Linked DNA regions of Homo sapiens: region 1 is linked to region 2. The links are contacts of gene promoters, found by promoter capture Hi-C in blood cells and fetal thymus (Javierre and others, 2016). All regions are on one chromosome and are shown on one strand. The core of a region is centred on a gene start or on the middle of the fragment in contact, and the rest is flanking DNA. Distances in the headings are between cores, read along the strand shown. Region 1 overlaps CASTOR1 (cytosolic arginine sensor for mTORC1 subunit 1). Region 2 holds the start of LIF (LIF interleukin 6 family cytokine).

Region 1 (2,743 bases), core at 1-2,500, 40 kb after region 2:
GTCAAAATACTTTCCTTGGAGGCCCCAGGAGGGAGAGGCACTGTCAGGACTCACCTGGCCAGGGAAGGCAACCCCACCAGAGGCAGAACGGAGGTCAGCGGGGCAGCTGGCCCAGGAAGCCTTTGGGGAATGGCTCAGGCCTCAGGCAGGGACTGTGCAAACGCCGAGGCTGCGCAGGGAGTGATGGGTTGGGGGCTTAAGCCCCGAGCACCGTGTTCCCCTGCATGGGCAGACACGCAGTCAGGCTAGCACCTGCCCACTCCACCTGTGAGTGTACACAGGTGTCCGCGTAAAAGCCGGTGCCTGCACGCAGCTTACATACAGAGAGCGGAACGAGGGTCCCCAGCAGAACAGGGGGCTCGTTCCAGAGCTTAAGGAAATAGCTTAGAGAAGTCTTTGGAAGCCTGGGTCGAGGGGAGAGCAGGGAGGCTGCTCTGTTGCCCATGGGCCTCAGGAAGCCAGGCCTTCCTGCCGCCGCTGGAGGACCTCGATGACGCTGCCGATACCGTCCTCGGGCACCTGAGGGCAGGTGGGCAGGAGGGAAGGGTCAAGGCGGAAGCTGGCCAGGGCCACCCCTGACTTCCTGGCCCAGCTGAGACTACCTCCTGCCGCCCACATTTCTGGGCCTCACTCTCCCCTCTGCCCCAGCCCTTGGTGCTCACCAGGGCGTGGTCGAAGTTGAAGGTGCTGATGTAGTAGGCAGAGATGTCAGCGGCAGCCAGGGGACCTGCAATCTGTGCCACGATGCCACATTCATCTGAGGGTGGTGGAGGAAGGCCACATGTGGCACATGCCGGTTGCTCCCCAGACACTCCCCAGCCCCCCAACACCGGGAACAGCCCTCACCAAAGCCCAGGGGCTGTCCACCGATGCGCACCATCCTCCACAGCTCCCCCGAGGAGCTGGTCAGCAGGAGGTCACTGGGGAACCTGGGGAGGGAGATGGGTGATGGGCAGGGCACCCCCATCCACCCCTGCCTGACCGTGAGCTCTGGGACAGGTACACCTGCTGACCTCAGAGTCTGATGCCCCACCTCCTCCCTGCCTGGGACTGGCTGGGGCCTGGGGCCCACCCGGGGTCAGGGGTCACCTACTTTTTCTGTGTTTCAGCATCCATGACAATGGAGATATAACCCTCGATGAGGGAGAAGGCAAAGAACGTGATGGAGCTGGGTTCAGGACTGCTAGAGGCTGCCTCCTTGGGGGTGCTGGGGAGGGATGGGAGGTTTAGGGGCTCTACCAGGCACCCAGCCTACTGCCCCTGCTCCCGATCAGCCTCCAGAACCCTGGGAAGGAGCTGGTATGGTGGCCTGGGCAGGCTCTGCCATATCTGCTACCCGCCCAAGGGTCCAGCCCTCTGGAAGGTGTGGGTGGGGATGGGGGAGGACAATGAACCCAGCCTGTGCCAAAAACAAAGGATTCCACGGTGAGAGGGCCAGACCAGGGCATGGCTCAGACGACCCCACTGGAAAGGGATCCAGCTTTGGGGCAAGAACCTTCCCCGAACATCAGTGAAGCACAAGTGAGCATCATGGGCTGCCAGGAACCCCAAGAGAGGACAAGCAAGAGGTGCAAAACTGATAGATGGGCGGAAAGTGGTGGGACAGAGTGTAGGGAACAGTGCTGTGAGGACAAAGACGAAGTTCCAAGGTCCACCTGTGCGAGTAGAAGAGGACATCTATGAGGGTGGTGGCGATGGCTGGAAGCGTCTCAGGGTCCAGTGTGAGGACACAGAAGCGGTTCTGTGGGCTCTGGATGGGATGCACCGTGGGGCTGGGCCCTGCTGGAGGACAGCAGCAGGTGAAAAGGTGTCCGTGGGCTGGGGCGCCCCCTGGTGGCTAGTCAGGGAGAGGCGTGGGCCAGGGGCAGGTCTTGCTATCCAGGAACTGGCCGGGGTCCTCCTGCCCCACTGGGGCCCAAAAGGGAAGGGACCCAGTGGGAAGAGGAGGCCCTGCCCAAGTCCAAGTGTCAGGGGGCGGCCCTCACCATGCTGAGTGCGGGGAAAGCCATTGCTGGAATCATCCCTCGTCACAGGCACAGGCTCTCCGCCCACCTCGCGGTAAATGTCGAACTCCTGGGCCAGCGTGTGGATCACCACGGACAGGTCCTGCTCCCGCACCTGGGCCACAGCAGATGGCACATCACATGGGCTCCCAGGTACCTATATCCACCCTGCTCTGCATCAGCACCAGCAGGAAACTCACCAGGATGAAGTCCGTCTGGTAAGTGGACAGCATCAGCACAGACACGTGGTGCTCGGCCAGTGGCGCGATGACCGAACGGGCGATCTTGGTGACCCCAGCAGCCTGCACTGCCGCACCGCTGTGAGACGACACGTTCAGCACCAGCCATGTGGCCTCAGCTACTTGCAGGAACTCAGATGGGGGCAGCTCTGTGGGCAGGGGACATGTCAGGTCAGGGTCTACAAGGCTGGCCCCTGCCCCTCTCTGAGCCTCAGTTTCCCTTTCTGTGCCTTGGAGGGCTCCATCAAGGTAAGGGCAGGTCTGGAGGCTGGGGCTCCTGAAGTCCCTATGTGTGCAAAGACTGAGAAAGGCTTCAAGTGCTGGCCTGGTGGCATTGAAACTTCCCACTTAAGATCAGAGGTCCAGATTCAGACAGACCTGGGTTCAAATCCCAGCTTTGTTAATTTGTCTTATGACCTGGGGTGGGTGATTTGAGTCTCAGTTTCCTCATCTGTAAAATGGGACGACAATATCTACCTCACTACGGTGTCTTCTGTGGGT
Region 2 (4,041 bases), core at 662-3,161:
GGCACAGGTGGCGTTGACAGGGGTGATGGGGAGGGGGCTCCCCGCCCCATGTTTCCAGTGCAGAACCAACAGCAGGGGCACAACTCCTGGGGACAGTCAGGAAGAAGCCATGAGTAGAAAGGCAGGAAAGGGTGGCCTGGGGTCATGGCACACCGGATGGGGGTCCAACAATGGCCGCATGGGAGAGGACTCCTGGTTCCCCCTCACCACCTGCAGCTGTCTTCCTGGGGCCTAGTCTTCACTCTGTCACTGCGTGTGTTTCTCTGTCTCCCTTTCTCTACCTTAGTTCTCCCTGCTCTCTTCTGGGATGACGTAAAGATGAGGGCAAGACACAAGCCATTTCCACCCAAAGGGTGCAGGGTCCAGGAGAGACTCCCAGCCATCCCACCCTTTCCCTCAGGAAGGCAAAGGTCCTAAGGCCCCCTGGCCCTCTGGCTGGAAGGCACCAGGCCCCAGGCCCAGCAGGCACCAGGAGAAAGGAGACCCCTCTCTTCCCACCTCCCGTGGTGGCCCAGGTTCCTCAGCAGCGCTTCCCACTCACTGGCCCATTGCAGCCCAAATCTCCGAAGCCAGGCACCCATGGGGGCCACGGGGCATGGGGGAGTGGGGAGGAGTCCTCGGTTGACCCTCATCTCCCTCCCAAACCTGCCACTTGATTCTGGCTCCCTGGGCCAATTGCCCCCAATTCTGCCCCCGCCCCCATCATCCTCTATCTCTTCCTTCCCTAGTGTCCCCTATCTCACTCAAGCTCACCCCATTTCTGCCTGGCTGTCCCCACTCTCCATCCCCAAATCATCATTCAAAACTCTCTGTTCCCCCAGCTCCGGACAGCCCCTGACTCCATGCCTTCTCCCGACTCATCCGCTGTCCCTTGTCCCAGGGGTTCCCCTCCCTCCTAACACACACACACCGGCTCAGGGAGGGAGAGGAAATGGTGCACCAGGAGAGAGAAAAGGCAAAAGGTCATAGGCAGTCGGGTGGGCGGGGAGGAAGGAAAGTGAAAGGTGACAGGAGAGCTGGGAGCTGTCCCGACATGTCCTGGTTTGCCCCTCCCCCAGGGGGGCCTGTTCTCCCGACTCCCCCCAGGCCCCCTTAGACGCTTTTCCAGGGCTCTGCAGAAGGGCACCTGAAGATGGTGGGGGCCGGGGTCAGCGGGCGAGTGAGGCTGGAGACCTCCCCCGGATCCCCCATGCTGGAACAGCGGGGACAGGGGCCTCCTCAAGTTCACTTCTCCTGGGTCCCCTGTTCGTCCCAGCATCCCAAGGCAGTGCTGAGGCCCCGGGGTGGCTGCGGGAGGGGGGCCACACCCCTATATCTCACCTAGCGCAGACCACACGCTTCCAGACACCAGCAGATGGAGGCGGCACCTGCTCCCGTCCCAGGCCGGAGTTTGCAAGCTGCTCGCCGCCCGCGCCCCTCCCTGGGAGCAGCCCGGGACCGCGGTTGGAAAGGAGAAAGCGGAAAGAAAGAAAGAAAAGAAAAAGAGAGAGGGAGAGTGAATCTGGGAGAAAGCGCAGAGGGAAGAGCAGCCAGCGAGTGTCCGGAGCGAGGAGGAGGAGGAGGAGAAGGAGAGGGGGAAGAAGAGGAGGAGGAGGAAGGCTCGGCGCCCCCTCCCTCGCCGCCAACCTGCCGCGGGGCGTGCGGTGCTTGGGACCATGTGCCCGCGCTCGCTCCGGGCCGCCACCCAGCGCCTCCGGTGGCTGCGCGGGCGCCCCAAGTGTTCGTGTGTCTGCGGCGGGTGGGCGTCCGGCTCGCGCTGCCAAGCGCCCCAAGTTGCCGCCGCGCCCCGCAGCGGGGACGCGAAGCCGGCGCGGGGCGGGTGTATTTACCTGCCGCCAAGACCTTCATTATGGGCTGCACTTCAGAGGGCCTTGGAGGAAACCTCAGATGCCGGCAGTTTTCAGAGGTTCATGCTCAAATGGGGAATTTGCCTGATTTATATACTGGAGCCTGTGTTGTAAGACAGAAACAGCTATATTTAGCCGGGATCCCCAGTCCAGGAAGTTGTTTGAGGTGCATCATAGGAAATTATGAATGGAAGAAAGTGAGAGTGAAGGGGGGGGACGAGTGAGGGGGGAGGGTGGGGAGAACAGACTTTTTCCCTCTTCTAAGAATTTGATTGATAAAATTATAATGAAGCCTTCGACAAAACGCCCTGTGGTTTTCCTGCCTGGCTTGTCCCGGGAGTTGTCTGAAGATGGGCATCGCCAGGAGGGGGCCCCTGGCCGAGTCAGCAGGGGTCCCAGCAGTGGGCGCCCCAGACGGCCCTGACTCACCTGGGTTTGGGGAGGTAGCGAGTCTGGACTAGCAGATGGAGACTGGCCCCTGTGCCCCCTGGTTGGGGGGCTTTAGGGGGGCAGTGGGAGGAGGAGGGCTAGGGCTTGGCTGAGAAGGAGGCTCCAGGAGGAGGGGCCGGGGCCGGCGTGGACTTTAGACGGTCATAAAGTGGAACTGAACATGGGCGCTGGAAGCCACCCCAGAGGTAGCCTCCTCCAATCTGCACATTGCCACTGGGCCCCAAGGGGCTCCGAGGGGAACACGTTGCCCAGGGCCCCAGAGGGTCAGGCCTCCAGACACCACCAGTGCACTCGCCCTGCTGACCACTGTACCTGTGAGGCTGGGGAAGGGGCTAGGAAGACATGGGGGTAGGGGTGACTGACTCAGTTCTGTCGGGACACTCTGGGAAGGTGCTTCTGGGAAGGCGGTCCAGCATTTCCATTCTGAAGCAGGACTGAGAGAGGCTTGGCGAAATCGTACCCCAGTTTCCTCCTCCGGGTGCTGATTGATGGTTGGGGAAACTGAGAAGTGGCTGGTCCCTTCCAGACCTGCCTTGGAAGCCCCTTTGAGCCCAGCCTCAGAGAATGATGGAGGTCCCCAAAAAGTGCTTCTAGAGGCTCTAAGGCAGTGTCACATGTTCTGGCGTCTTCTGAGGCCAGGCGATTTGTGAATGAGGAAGGGCAGAAAGGAGCAGTGGGGAGCCGGGCAAAATGAGCACAGGGACACCTCCAAGAAATGCAACAGAAAAGTGAAAATAAATACACCCTATGAGATGCGGGAATGCCGGCCAGACAGCATGGCCACGCGTCTGGGGCCATGCCGTCCCTAAAGCTGCCAGGGGACCCCCAGTACCAGGAGATGATTTAGTCCCCTGTGGCCCCTTCCCAGCCCTTCCGCCTGACCCTGACCTGAGATCAAGGTGTGTGAGTTGGTTTTCCAAGGCCAGGGAGCTCTTGCAGCCTCGCCCGGGCCCCCACCGCCCCCTCGCCCATCCTCCATGCCCCCAGTTCCTGCCTCTTGCCACATCCCAGACCTGCCCAGCCACGGGTTCCTCCTTCATCGTGCCAGGACGAGCCCTGGTGCCTGCTGCCGTTCCCCACCACACACACACCCTGCTTTATCTACGCTCTTGCCCCCCATTCTCTCCCAGCAGGGCCTCGGATGTGAGGTGATAAAACTGCCCATCCCAGCTGGCACTTCCCGAACTGGCTCTCCTTCCTCCTTCCTGCCTCTCACCCCACACCTTGTCTCTTCTTTGAGGGACCATGGAGGGCCCCACTTGGCACTTACTGCTCCTATACACTTGCTCTGGGGTCAGCGTACACTACTAGGAGACTCACCTGCCCTGGCCTGGCTCAGGTAACCCCACATCCCAGGACACCCCAGCTCAACCCTTCTTCTTACACCTCCCCCAGCATCTCCTGCACAAGGACCTGACCACTCAGAGCACGTGAGCTCTGGACCAGTCCCCAGTCCCATCCCACATCACCCAGACCCCTGCCACCTGACTCAGCCTGGCTCTCCTGACATGGACCCCAAATCCATGTGACCAGGGGCTCACTGTGGCCTCCACCCATCAAACCCCCGTCGCCCGGCCTGAGTCTCTCATTAGGCTCAAGAGTTCTGCAGCTGCCCCTACATCTACCATTCTGCCCAGTCTCCCCTGCATCCTTCCAAGCGGACCCCCAGGCCCTTGCATGCCTTCTGGCAAGCCAGACCCCACATCAGCCCTATAATCCACCCCCAATCGCTGTTTAATCTCAG

What was found. The method cuts DNA at HindIII sites, captures the fragments that hold promoters and counts their contacts. A CHiCAGO score of 5 or more calls a contact.
Region 1: a fragment that was not itself captured here is called in contact with the fragment with the promoter of LIF in region 2 in 2 of 17 cell types (monocytes and M2 macrophages); the score reaches 5.3 in monocytes.

What each region holds. Positions count from the first base shown.
Region 1 is chr22:30,285,170-30,287,912 of GRCh38, forward strand. It overlaps CASTOR1 (cytosolic arginine sensor for mTORC1 subunit 1), which reads right to left. Exons shown (of 9, transcript NM_001037666.3): 3 at 2,204-2,391; 4 at 1,986-2,118; 5 at 1,656-1,779; 6 at 1,094-1,207; 7 at 847-929; 8 at 663-757; 9 at 1-519. The coding sequence ends at 451. Among named protein-coding and RNA genes, the nearest start is that of CASTOR1, 3.0 kb to the right of the region's middle. The HindIII fragment of the contact is 2,999 bases long and covers 1-2,743 here.
Region 2 is chr22:30,244,848-30,248,888 of GRCh38, forward strand. It overlaps LIF (LIF interleukin 6 family cytokine), which reads right to left and starts at 1,912. Exons shown (of 3, transcript NM_002309.5): 1 at 1,830-1,912; 2 at 1-86. The coding sequence starts at 1,848. LIF-AS2 (LIF antisense RNA 2) reads left to right here and starts at 1,363. Exons shown (of 1, transcript NR_148946.1): 1 at 1,363-2,146. RefSeq lists an enhancer at 1-362. The HindIII fragment of the contact is 10,846 bases long and covers 1-4,041 here.